Linked DNA regions of Homo sapiens: region 2 is linked to region 1. The links are contacts of gene promoters, found by promoter capture Hi-C in blood cells and fetal thymus (Javierre and others, 2016). All regions are on one chromosome and are shown on one strand. Each heading gives the region's core, a stretch centred on a gene start or on the middle of the fragment in contact. The rest is flanking DNA. Distances are from core to core; before and after follow the strand shown. Region 1 holds the start of GANAB (glucosidase II alpha subunit). Region 2 has its middle 17 kb from the start of SCGB1A1.

Region 1 (6,667 bases), core at 1,674-4,173:
GTTGTAGGGCCACGCGTACATTAATGGACATCTATGTGCAGTGCCTCTCGGCTCTCATTGGTAGCTGCCCAGATGCGTGTGTGGATGCCTTGCTGGATACCTCTGTTCAGCATTCTCCACACTTTGACTGGGTTGTGGCACATATTGGCTCCTCTTTTCCTGGCACCATCATTTCCCGGGTTCTCTCCTGTGGCCTTAAGGACTTTTGTGTCCATGGTGGGGCTGGAGGTGGAGCTGGCAGTAGTGGTGGAAGCTCTTCTCAGACCCCCTCTACAGACCCCTTCCCTGGATCTCCTGCCATTCCTGCGGAGAAACGGGTGCCCAAGATTGCCTCAGTTGTAGGCATCCTAGGTCACCTGGCCTCCCGCCACGGAGATAGCATCCGACGGGAGCTCCTGCGAATGTTCCATGATAGCCTGGCAGGGGGATCTGGAGGCCGCAGTGGGGACCCCTCCCTTCAGGCCACGGTTCCGTTCCTACTGCAGCTGGCAGTCATGTCACCAGCTTTGCTGGGCACTGTCTCTGGAGAGCTTGTGGATTGCCTCAAGCCCCCAGCTGTGCTGAGCCAGCTGCAGCAACACCTTCAAGGATTCCCCCGAGAGGAGCTGGACAACATGTTGAACCTGGCTGTGCACCTGGTGAGCCAGGCCTCTGGGGCAGGTGCCTACCGCTTGCTGCAGTTCCTGGTGGACACAGCTATGCCTGCTTCGGTCATTACCACCCAGGGCCTGGCTGTGCCAGACACCGTGCGTGAGGCTTGTGACCGGCTAATCCAGCTGCTGCTGCTGCACCTGCAAAAACTGGTTCATCACCGGGGAGGGTCTCCTGGGGAAGGGGTGCTAGGCCCGCCCCCACCTCCCCGCTTGGTGCCCTTTTTAGATGCGCTCAAAAACCATGTTGGAGAGCTGTGTGGAGAGACGTTACGATTGGAACGGAAGCGCTTCCTCTGGCAGCACCAGCTCTTGGGCCTGCTGTCTGTCTATACCCGGCCTAGCTGTGGACCTGAGGCCTTGGGCCATCTGCTGAGCCGAGCCCGAAGCCCTGAAGAGTTGAGTTTGGCCACCCAGTTATATGCAGGGCTAGTGGTCAGCCTCTCTGGCCTCCTGCCCCTGGCTTTCCGAAGCTGTCTGGCTCGGGTGCATGCAGGGACATTACAGCCTCCCTTCACGGCCCGGTTCCTGCGCAACTTGGCACTGCTAGTAGGGTGGGAACAGCAGGGTGGCGAGGGCCCTGCAGCCCTAGGGGCGCACTTTGGGGAATCTGCCTCAGCCCATCTGTCTGACCTGGCTCCTCTCCTGCTACATCCTGAGGAGGAAGTAGCTGAAGCTGCTGCCTCTCTCCTGGCCATTTGTCCCTTTCCTTCTGAAGCCTTATCCCCCTCCCAGCTCCTGGGACTGGTAAGGGCTGGGGTGCACCGCTTCTTTGCCTCTCTGAGGCTGCATGGACCCCCAGGTGTGGCCTCAGCCTGTCAGCTTCTCACCCGCCTGTCTCAGACATCCCCAGCTGGGCTCAAGGCTGTCCTGCAGCTGCTGGTTGAAGGAGCCTTACATCGAGGCAACACAGAACTGTTTGGTGGGCAAGTAGATGGGGACAATGAGACTCTCTCAGTTGTTTCAGCTTCTTTGGCTTCTGCCTCCCTGTTGGACACTAACCGGAGGCACACTGCAGCTGTGCCAGGTCCTGGAGGGATTTGGTCAGTTTTCCATGCTGGAGTCATCGGCCGTGGCTTAAAGCCACCCAAGTTTGTCCAGTCACGAAATCAGCAGGAAGTGATCTATAACACCCAGAGCCTCCTCAGCCTCCTGGTTCACTGCTGCAGTGCCCCAGGGGGCACTGAATGTGGGGAATGCTGGGGGGCACCCATCTTGAGTCCAGAGGCAGCCAAAGCAGTGGCAGTGACCTTGGTGGAGAGTGTGTGTCCCGATGCAGCTGGTGCAGAGCTGGCCTGGCCCCCCGAGGAACACGCCCGGGCCACCGTGGAGCGGGATCTCCGCATTGGCCGGCGCTTCCGCGAACAGCCCCTGCTCTTTGAGCTGTTAAAGCTGGTAGCAGCTGCACCCCCAGCCCTGTGCTACTGTTCCGTGCTGCTTCGGGGGCTGCTGGCCGCCCTCTTGGGCCATTGGGAAGCCTCTCGCCACCCTGACACGACCCACTCCCCCTGGCACCTGGAGGCATCCTGCACCTTAGTGGCTGTCATGGCTGAGGGAAGCCTCCTGCCTCCGGCCCTGGGTAATATGCATGAAGTATTTAGCCAACTGGCACCTTTCGAGGTGCGTCTGCTGCTGCTCAGTGTCTGGGGTTTTCTCCGGGAGCATGGGCCCTTGCCTCAGAAGTTCATCTTCCAATCAGAGCGGGGTCGCTTCATTCGGGACTTCTCCAGGGAGGGTGGAGGTGAGGGTGGACCCCATCTGGCTGTGCTGCACAGTGTCCTCCACCGCAACATCGACCGCCTAGGTCTTTTCTCTGGCCGTTTCCAGGCACCTTCACCGTCCACTCTCCTTCGACAGGGGACGTAGCCTTTTCTTGCTCTGGAAGCCCAGGGAGGTTGAGCAGTGAGAGAGGGAAGGGACTAACGTGCTCCGGAAGGGTGGAGGTTTCTCTTCTAAGTCCTTGGTCTAAAGAGCGCTGTCACTTTTTTCTCTCCCACTTTTTTTTTTCTAAATAAAATTTGCCAACTTGAGAAAACCAGTCCAGTGCTTCTGTCATGCTGAGAGCGTGCAAAGTCTGACAGCGCCTGGCTCTGGACGTTCCCGCCCCTGGCCTGAAGCCCCGCCCCCTGCGATAATTTGGAGTGCGCACTCTACCAATGAGACAGCTGCCCGGCGGCGCTCAGGTCGAACCAATCATAAGGCCGGAAGGGGCGGGAACTAGGATACGTGGCTGAGCGCGCGCGATGGGGCGGGAGGTTTGGGGTCAAGGAGCAAACTCTGCACAAGATGGCGGCGGTAGCGGCAGTGGCGGCGCGTAGGAGGCGGTGAGGAGCCCGGAATCTGGGGGCGCGCCCGGGACGCCCCCAGATCCCCCAAGTCCCATTCCACTCCTTCCTGTGTGTCTCTTGACACTCTGCCACCCCCGGCCTCGTGAGGAACCTTTGTTCCTCTGGAGGCGGCCTCAGACGCCTCCGGTCTCCCCGTGGTAGATCCGAGCGACGCTGGGGGCCTTGCCTGTGGGGCTCCGGGCTCCCGCCCGGCGGTTTAGTAAAGCCACAGCTGTGCGTCTTTCTTGGTCTTGGCCGCTCTCAGCCGCCGCCCTCCTTTGGCTGCTTGCGGCGGTCAACGTCGCCGCCCCCTTCCTGCAGTGCGCGGGGTCGTCGGGGCGGGGGAAAAGATGCGGCCTGGCCTCGGGGAATGCAGCCTGCGGCCCCGCGGCCCCTCGGCTGAGCTGGAAGCACCGGGCCAGCAGTTAAGCCTGTACTACCCTTCTGGCTCTACCCTGTAGAGCTCCGAATCCTCCTCTGCCCTTGTCTTCACGTGAGCACCAGCTCTGGCTTAGTTCAGTGTCCACGGTCGCTGGGCACGGCCCAGGGTCCAGTAAGCTCACGGCGTGGATGGTGTTGCTCAAACACAACATGTAATCGAATGGCTTGGTCCACGCTCTCGGGTTTATATTACTGGGGAAAAAAAAAGATTCGAAACATATCACCAGTGCCACAAATGTTTACTAGGACCTAACGGATATACTGGGGTGGGGTAGGCGTGTACTCTCCAAAGCGATGAAGAAAGCGTGGATCATAAACTCAGTTCCCTCGGAGCCTGTGATCTGAAACAATAAATGCGTGCAACTTGCCCTGCAGCTTATTCCTGACTTTGGCCTATGAACACCTCTCTTGGGGTGGTCAAGGCCGCCGTGAATTCCTTAGGGCCCTCCAACAGGTCATATCTGAAAGATGCTTTAGGAATCCTATCTCCATTGGCATCTTTCCGAACCAATTTTACAGACTGTGCAAATAGGGCCCCAGAGGGTATTTAACTCACTGTACGTCTTTTTTTTTTTTTTTTGAGAGACAGAGTCTCGCTCTGTTGCCCAGGCTGGAGTGCAGTGGCGAGATCTCGGCTCACTGCAAGCTCCGCCTCCTGGGTTCACGCCATTCTCCTGCCTCAGCCTCCCGAGTAGCTGGGACTACAGGCACCCGCCACCACGCCTGGCTATTTTTTTGTATTTTTAGTAGAGACGGGGTTTCACTATGTTGGTGAGGATGATCTCGATCTCTTGACCTCGTGATCCACCCGCCTCGGCCTCCCAAAGTGCTGGGATTACAGGCGTGAGCCACCGCGCCCGGCCTCAACTCACTGTACTTCTATTTACTGCTGCTTTTGGCAGGTGGACGTGGGTCAGTGGCCAAGAGTGCCTGTTGCAGTCACTCAGGTCACTCACTGCAGGACCTGTGCCGCATGCCTTGCTATGGAGTTTTGTGGTAGCATTTATTCTGCTTGGCCTATTAAACCACAGTGCCTAGTGTTTTCTTCATTTTTCTGTCTGGCCTGCTGTGGAACAGTTGTTTCGTACATTCCTCTGGAGCTGGAGGAGAGTCCTGTGATGAGATCATAGTACACTCTGTGATCTCATTTCTGGTAATTTTCTTTTAGCTTTCAAGCAGATGCTGAAGCTAATGCTAGATAACTAGATACAATGTGTATAATAGACCCTGTCTTTAGTTACCTTATTATAGGTTGTCAAATTTTATTTATTTATTTATTTGTTTGTTTACTTATTGAAACAGGGTCTCGCTCTGTTGCCTAGGATGGAGTGCAGGGGTGCAATCTCGGCTTACTCCAGCTTCCACCTCCCGAGTTCAAGCGATTCTCCTGCCTCATCCTCCCGAGTCCTGGGATTACAGACGTGTGCCACCGTGCCCAGCTAATTTTTGTATTTTTAGTAGACACCCCATTGACCAGTCTTAATTAATTTACTTTTTTGAGACAGAGTCTTGTGCTGTGGCCCAGGCTGGAGAGCAGTGGTGCAATCGTAGCTCATGCAGCCTCAAACTCTTGCGTTCAGGCAGTCCTCCGGCTTCAGCCTCCTGATTAGCTGGGACTACAGGCACCTGCCACCATGCCTTGCTACTCTTTTTTTTTTTTAAGTAGAGACGAGGTCTTGCTGTGTTGCCCAATCTTCCCTTTTTGACCTCCCAAAGTGCTAGGATTATAGACGTGAGCCACTGTGCCTGGCTGGTTGTAAAACTTTATTGCTTAGAAGAACCCTCCCACCCCCAGTTTGAAACACTTTCTCAGAGTATGCTCGTATTCTGCCCATATCAGTGTCACTGGGAGAGCATGTTTAAAATGTGGTGTCAGCCGGGCACGATGGCTCACACCTGTAATCCCAGCACTTTGGGAGGCCGAGGCTGGCGAATCACCTGAGGTTGGGAGTTCGAGACCAGCCTGACCAACACAGAGAAACCCCGTCTCTACTAAAAATACAAAATTAGCCGAGTGTGGTGGCACGCGCCTGTAATCCCAGCTACTTGGGAGGCAGAGGCAGGAGAATTGCTTGAACCCGCGAGGCAGAGGTTGCGGTGAGCCAAGATCGTGCCATTGCACTCCAGCATGGGCAACAAGAGTGAAACTCAGTTTCAAAAAAAATTAAAAATAAAATGCGGTATCCAGGGTGGGTGCAGTGGCTCACGCCTGTAATTCCAGCATTTTGGAAGGCCAAGGTGGAAAGATGGCTTTAGCCTAGAAGTTCAAGACAAGCCTGGGCAACTTTTTTTTCTTGTTTTTGAGACAGAGTCACACTTTGTCACCCAGGCTAGAGTGCAGTGGTGCGATCTCAGCTCACTGCAACCTCTGACTCCCAGGCTCAAACCATTCTCGTTCCTCAGCCTCCCCAGTAGCTGGGATTATAGGCATGTGCCACTACGCCTGGCTAATTTTTGTATATATCTATTTTTTTCTAGGTGGTGTTTCGCTGTGTCGCCCAGGCTGGAATGCAGTGGCACAACCTTGGCTCACTGCAACCTCTGCCTCCCGGGTTCAAGCAATTTTCCTGCCTCAGCCTCCTGAGTAGCTGGGACTGCAGGCGTGTGCCACCATGCCCTGTTAATTTTTTTTTTGTATTTTTAGTAGAGACGGGGTTTCATCATGTTGGCCAGGCTGGCCTCAAACTCCTGACCTCAGGTGATCCACCCGCCTCAGCTTCACAAAGAGCTGGGATTACAGGTGTGAGCCACCACGCCCGGCCTAATTTTTGTATTTTTAGTAGAGATGGAGTTTCGCCATGTTGGCCAGGCTGGTCTAACTCCTGATCTCGTGATCTGCCCACCTGGGCCTCCCAAAGTGCCAAGATTATAGGTGTGAGCTACCATGCCTGGCTGATTCTTAACAGACATTAAAATTTGAGAATCTCTGTTTAGGATTTATTCAGAATCCTAAGGATGAATCCTGGATGAATATATTCTTCAAACTAACTTATTTAAATAAGCCTATTAGTCTCTTATCTGTCATTTCATAGCACATTGGGAAATTGACAATTCGTGATAACCTTGGGATGATGGTCCTCAATGAGACAGGCCCATTTCATCCTGCTAGTGATTAGTGTGCTGTATTGTGCATCATGGTAAAGCACATGGGCCCCAGAGTCAAGCACAACTGGGTTCAGTTCGTTTCATCCCTTACCAGCTATTTAATCTTGGGTGAACTATTCAACCTTTTATGCTTTAATTTTCCCA
Region 2 (6,667 bases), core at 3,001-5,500, 210 kb after region 1:
CGCTCCTGTGGGATTTCAGCAATGCAGCCAGGTCAGCAGTGGTACCTGTTGATGCTACACAGCAACCTTAGGATGGCAGGCTGCATAGTCCAAAGGCCCAGGAAGTCATTATCATATGAGCATTCTCATGTGAGCCGGTCATGATTAGTTTTTCTATGAGACCTTTGCTCCTCATTGAAATAACAACAAATCAGTTGTCTCCACGCCAGAGGAAGATACCACATAAAGCAAGACTAAAAGGAGCAGAGAACAGAGAAGGTCTTCCTGGCCTTAGGGATGGGCAAACATTTCTAAAACAGAATGCAAACAGCACTAACCACAGAAGAAAAATCGATGAATTGGACTTTATCAAAATTAAATCCTCTCTTCATCCAAGGGCACCATTAAAAAAATGAAAAGGCAAGCCTCAGACCTGGAGAAGATATATATCTGCAATACATATGTCTGATAAAGTATTCGTTTCTAAAATATTTGAAGTACTGCAGATCAATAAGAAAACTAAAAATGACCCAATTAAAAAAATGAGAAAAAGAGGCCAGGTGCGATGGCTCATGCCTGTAATCTCAGCACTGTGGGAGGCCGAGGCAGGTGGATCACCTGTCAGGAGTTCGAGACCAGCCTGATAAACACGGTGAAACCCTGTCTCTACTAAAAATACAAAAATTAGCTGGACGTGGTGGCAGGCACCTGTAATCCCAGCTACTCGGGAGTCCGAGGCAGGAGAATTGCTTGAACCCGGGAGGCAGAGTTGCAGTGAGCCGAGATCACACCACTGCACTCCAGCCTGGGAGACAGAACAAAACTCAGTCTCAGGAAAAAAAAAAAAAAAAAGAGAGAAAGAAAAAGACTTGACCAGGCACTAACAAAAGAGGATACCCAGATGGCCAAATACACTGTGAAAAGGTGCTCAACATCATTATTCATCAGAAAATGCAAATGCGCTGGGAAATTAGCTGAGCCTGGTGGCACAAGCCTGTAGTCCCAGTTATTTGGGAGACTGAGGTGGGAGGATCATTTGAGCCTAGGAGTTTGAGGCTGCAGTGAGCTATGATCATGCCACTGCACTCTGGCCTTGGTGACAGAATGCAAAAGAAAAAAAAAGAACAACATAGACACACAAAACTCCCACAAAAAGATACTACTACACACCCACCATAATAGCTAAAATGAAAAGACTGACAATACCAAGTGTTGCTGAGAATATGGAACAACTAGAACTATTGCATATTGCTGTGGGGAGTGTGGAAGAGGTACAGCCACTGGGAACATTGTTTGGCAGATTATATTAAAGCTATAGATATGCCTGCTGTACAACCCAGAAATTCTACTCCTAAGTATTTGGGTAAGGGATTTGGGCTGGGCGTGGTGGTTCACACCTGTAATCCCAGCACTTTGGGAGGCCAAGGTGGGTGGATAACCTGAGGTCAGGAGTTCGAGACCAGCCTTGCCAATATGGTGAAACCCCGTCTCTACTAAAAATACAAAAAAAATTAGCTGAGTGTGGCAGATGAGTGCCTGTAATCCTAGGTACTCAGGAGGCTGAGGCAGGAGAATCACTTGAACCCAGGAGGCAGATGTTGCAGTGGCTGAGATTGCACCATTGCACTCCAGCCTGGCAGACAGAGTGAGACTCCGTCTCAAAACAAAACAAAACAAAGCTGAGGGGTTTGAGTGCCTATGCTGACAATAATGTATGTACAAAAATGTTCAAAGAAGTTTCTCCAAACCTGAAACACCCCAAATTCCCATCAACAGAAGATTGGAGAAATAAATTGGTGATCTATTCATATAAGAGTACTATGCAATGATGAAAAGATTATATGCTCTGATTCCATTAATATATGGTTCAGAAAGAGGCAAAGCTGATCTATAATGAGTCAAATCATGATTCTGTCTGGTGGGGATATGGATTGGGAGGGTGCATGAGGGAACGTTTTGGGGTGCTGGAAATATTCCTTATGTGGCCTGGAGTGGTGGTTATAGAAATGCCTATTTATGAAAATGATTATCAAGCTGTCCATTGTGTGCTTTATGTACTCTGATGAATGTATGTTATACTTCTTTTTTTTTTTTTGAGACAGAGTCTTGCTCAGTCACCCAGGCTGGAGTGCAGTGGCGCGATCTTGGCTCACTGCAAGCTCCGCCTCCTGGGTTCACGCCATTCTCCTGCCTCAGTTTCCCGAGTAGCTGGGACTACAGGCGCCCGCCACCATGCCCGGCTAATTTTTTTTTGTATTTTTGGTAGAGACTGGGTTTCACCGTGTTAGCCAGGATGGTCTCGATCTCCTGACCTCGTGATCCACCCACCTTGGCCTCCCAAAGTGCTGGGATTACAGGCGTGAGCCACTGCGCCCGGCCTATACTTTTTTTTTTTTTTTAATGAAAAGAAATGCAGATTTTCATGTCCAAGAGAAGTAATAACAATAATAATTTATGGAGCACCCAATATGTGCCTGGTTGCTTTATAGAGATTATTTGCCTTAATCTATCCAAACCACCTGTCAAAATGATATTCTTTTCTTGTTAGAGAGGAGGAAACTGAAGCTTAGAGAGGGACAATAGCTTGTCTGAGTATCACAGCTGGTAAGTGTGGGAGTTAGACTTGAATGCCATATTCTGCACTGTTGCCACTTGGCTTGGGATGTTGAGAGTGAATCTTGGTACAGCATCAAAGCTCTCTGTGTTGCCTGCTACTCCCCCGGAGCATCAGATGTTGCAGACACCATTCTTTAAAGAGAACTTCATTGTGTGAACCCCAAGTTCCCCCACCTTCTTCAAAACAAAAACATGAATTGGGAAGCCCAGCCCCTTTATGAACCCTTTCCATGAATTTGTTCCAATCAGGAAAAGAGCCTGCAACTTCCTCCCCACCCTGTTCATCCTAACTGTTCTGTGTTGTGAATTCGCTGAGAATGAAAGGGGATGGGCTAGAGCTGTCAATACTGTGAGCCAGGCTTGAACTCCAGCTCTGCTCCTTTTAAACAGTGAGGCTCTTGGGTAGTTATTTAACTTCTCAAAGCCTTTGTTTCCTGGTCTGTGAAAAGTGACAGTGGTACTTCCCTTCTAGTCTCACTGTGAGAGTTAAATGCGGTCATATGTAAGAAGTGCTCAGCTCAGCGACAGGTTCATAGCAAGTGTGCAATAAAAGGTAGTGTAGAAATGTCAAAACTGGCTGGGTGCGGCCAGCCTGCAATCCCAGCACTTTGGGAGGTCAAGGCAGGAGGATTGCTTGAGTCCAGGAGTTCAAGGCCAGCCTGAGCAATATAGTAAGACCCCATCTCTTAAAAAGATAAATAAATAGGCCGGGTGCGGTGGCTCAAGCCTGTAATCCCAGCACTTTGGGAGGCCGAGGTGGGCGGATCACGAGGTCAGGAGATCGAGACCATCCTGTCTAACACGGTGAAACCCCGTCTGTACTAAAAATACAAAAAAATTAGCCGGGCGAGGTGACGGGCGCCTGTAGTCCCCAGCTACTCGGGAGGCTGAGGCAGGAGAATGGCGGGAACCCCGGGGGGCGGAGCCTGCAGTGAGCCAAGATCGCGCCACTGCATTCCAGCCTGGGCAACAGCGAGACTCCGTCTCAAAAAGAAAAAAAAAAGATAAATAAATAAATAAAGCTTTCACTTTCCTGGTGCCTAATTCCTTCCAAGCCTCTTAAAGAGGCTTAGCACCTTTGCCCTCTAAATAATTCAACACACATTTGGAAGAAAGAAGTTATGTGAATGGTTTCTTCACAAAGTGTAACATATAGTGAATAAATGGGGCAGAATTGCAGGACTTCAGCAAGGAAAGGGGGGCATTTTGAACTAGAGTGGTCAGATGGTGGTATTATTTGGCTGAGTCTTCAAAAATGGGTAGGATTTAGTCACAGAGAGAAGACCAGGAAGGTCATTCTCAATTAGGGGGAGGGCAGGAGGTAGTTTTTAGGAGCCAAGGTAAAGTTTGGGAAGGGTGAGCAGGTGATTTTGGTTGGTGCTTGAAACTTGTGTAGGGACTAGTAGAAGATAAAGTAGGAAAGGAGGCCTGGTTCCAGATGAGGTCCCATTAAGAAAGCTGGCTTTTTTTTTTTTTTTTTTTTTTGAGACAGGGTCTTGCCATGTTGTCCAGGCTGAAGTGCAGTGACAGGATCTTGGATCACTGTGCAACCTCTGCCTCCCGGATTCAAGTGATTCTTCTGCCTTAGTTTCCTGAGTAGCTGGGATTACAGTGTGTGCCACCACACCCGGCTAATTTTTGTATTTCTTTTTAGTAGAGGCAGGGTTTCACCATGTTGGTCAGCCTGGTCTTGAACTCCTGACCTTAGGAGGTCCGCCTGCCTCGGCCTCCCAAAGTGCTGGGATTACAGGCGTGAGCCACTGCGCCTGGCCCGAAAGCTGGATTTGTTTCTGTTGGAAAAGGAGTTGCTGAACTTTCTTGAGCGCAGGAGGTGTAAGATGAAGCCTGGGGCATGCAGGCCCACGTGGGAGGTGAGAGAGACCAGGCCAGGAGGCCCATGAGAGGACAACCTGCGCATTCATGGGAGTCCGATGGGGATGAGTTGGGTGTGACTCGGGGAGGAGGCACTGGGCTGGGACAGAAGATGTAGTAGTTAGGCTCTGGGAGACGACAGGGAGGGAAGGTGAAGGGCCATGAAGTCTCAAAGCCAGTTGCTTGGGTTCATGAAGCAGAAAGGGTTCATGAAGAGGAAAGGGAAGAGAGAAAGTCAGTTTGGAGATGATAATGAAAGGGATTTCTTAATGGCTGAGGCTGGAGGTGGCAGCTGTTTTCACGGTTCCTACCTTCCTCTGTTATTTGAATGTTCTTGGGAACACACTGTCCTCTTCTGGTCTCGGGCTTGTATGGGGGGCACCAAAAGGACAGACTCGGGCTTTATGCAAGCTTCCTTTCCACCCTTGCCGCACAGAAACCACACAGAGGGAGGCGTGGCAAGACCAAAAGAGACCCAACAGCAGGATCCTTTCCAAATCTATCCCTTCCAGAGGCAAGCATTTGTTTGGATGCCCTAGCAAGGAGTGGGGGGACCTTCTTTCAGTTGGTGCAAAGTTAACGAACCATCTTCTGATTTTATGGAGAGATGCAAATAGTGTGTTGAATATAAATCTCTTTGTTGTTGTTTTACAGGACTGTAGAAGCGGCCAGGAAGAAAACCACCCCCTCTTAAGGTTGTTTTTGTGACCGTTCTTTGGAGCATTGTTCTAAAAATGGGAAATTACATATTGCTGTGCCAAGGGCAACAAACACCTGCAGTTAAAGGAATACCTTCCGCGAGGCGGCTTTTCGGAGCATGCATGTTTATAGCTCCAGCCAGGCCAGACCGAGGGCTGCTGCATAAGCCCTGCTTGGTGCATTTCTTTACTTGCAAGGGGACAGAGTGTGGGCTTAGGTTTGGGACTAGAGGGGGCTTTGGCAACTATGGTGCTCAGGTGATTATCCTTCGCTCGTTTATCCAATAAACATTTATCAAGCATCTGTTCTTGTGTCAACCTTTGTGGTTTTCTCTGTTCCCTTCCCTGGCGTTGTGAGAATCCCTGGGAGAGTTGGCCACAGGCAGCAGCTTGCTGTCACTATTTTTTTTTTTTTTTCAGTTTTCAGAGTCAGCACATGACTGCTGCCTCCACATGACCGAGAACCCCCGCGCGTTCTCTCCTTTCTCTCTTTTCTTTCTCCCTCTTACACCCCTTGCTCCCCCTCCCCTTTCTCTTTCCTCTTTATTTATCTAAAAAAGGAGAAATGTAATCTTTTTTTTTTTGAGACAGTGTCTCACTCTGTCACCCAGTCTGGAGAGTGCAGTAGTATGATCTCAGTTCACTATAACCTCCACCTCCTGAGTTCAAGTGATTCTCGTGCCTCGGCCTCAGTAGCTGGGATTACAGGCCTGCCACCACGCCTGGCTAATTTTTGTATTTTTTTTTTTTTTTTTTTTTTTTAGTACAGACGGGATTTCACCACATTGGCCAGGCTGGTCTCAAACTCCTGACCTCAAGTGATCCACCTGCCTCGGCCTCCCAAAGTGCAGGGATTACAGGGATGAGCCACCATGCCCGGCCAATACATGTATTTTTTAACATGCCAATCGATACGTTTCTTCAGGCACACGCCTTTTCAAAGTTTCCTGTCACTGGGGGTCAGTCTGAAATTCTTATTCTATGGTAGCAGACGTTAAAGGATAACTTTCGATTATCTGGTTAATATTTAACTTTTATCAACATTGATATTGCAAAATAATCAGGTCTTGAAATTTATCAAGCATGAAATGAATACCATTCAGATGGATTTGTGGTTTAAGAGGAATCCAGTTTCATAAACGAGTCTCATCTTTTTTTTTTCTTTTTTTTTTGAGACAGAGTTTTGCTCTTGTTGCCCAGGCTGGAGTGCAATGGCGTGATCTCGGCTCCCTGCAACATCTGCCTCCTGGGTTCAAGCGATTCTTCTGCCTCAGCCTCCCAAGTAGCTGGGATTACAGACACCCGCCACCACGCCCAGCTAATTTTTGTATTTTTAGTGGAGATGGGGTTTCTCCATGTTGGTCAGGTGGGTCTCAAACTCCTGACCTCAGGTGATCCACCTGCCTCAGTCTCCCAAAGTGCTGGGATTACAGGGGTGAGCCACCGTGCCTGGCCAACTAATCTCATCTTTACCTAGAAACAGAAAAGCAGGGAACAACGGA

The links. Contacts are between HindIII fragments. The CHiCAGO score rates a contact against its expected background, and 5 or more counts as called.
Region 2: a fragment that was not itself captured here is called in contact with the fragment with the promoter of GANAB in region 1 in 1 of 17 cell types (total B cells); the score reaches 7.2 in total B cells.

The regions. Positions count from the first base shown.
Region 1 is chr11:62,642,869-62,649,535 of GRCh38, reverse strand. It overlaps GANAB (glucosidase II alpha subunit), which reads left to right and starts at 2,923. Exons shown (of 24, transcript NM_198334.3): 1 at 2,923-2,974. The coding sequence starts at 2,937. It overlaps INTS5 (integrator complex subunit 5), which reads left to right. Exons shown (of 2, transcript NM_030628.2): 2 at 1-2,688. The coding sequence ends at 2,516. RefSeq lists a silencer at 2,752-2,831 and enhancers at 3,442-3,601, 3,917-4,724. The HindIII fragment of the contact is 15,573 bases long and covers 1-6,667 here.
Region 2 is chr11:62,432,346-62,439,012 of GRCh38, reverse strand. It overlaps a transcript of AHNAK not described here. Among named protein-coding and RNA genes, the nearest start is that of SCGB1A1, 17 kb to the right of the region's middle. RefSeq lists enhancers at 3,939-4,438, 4,439-4,940. The HindIII fragment of the contact is 1,261 bases long and covers 3,620-4,880 here.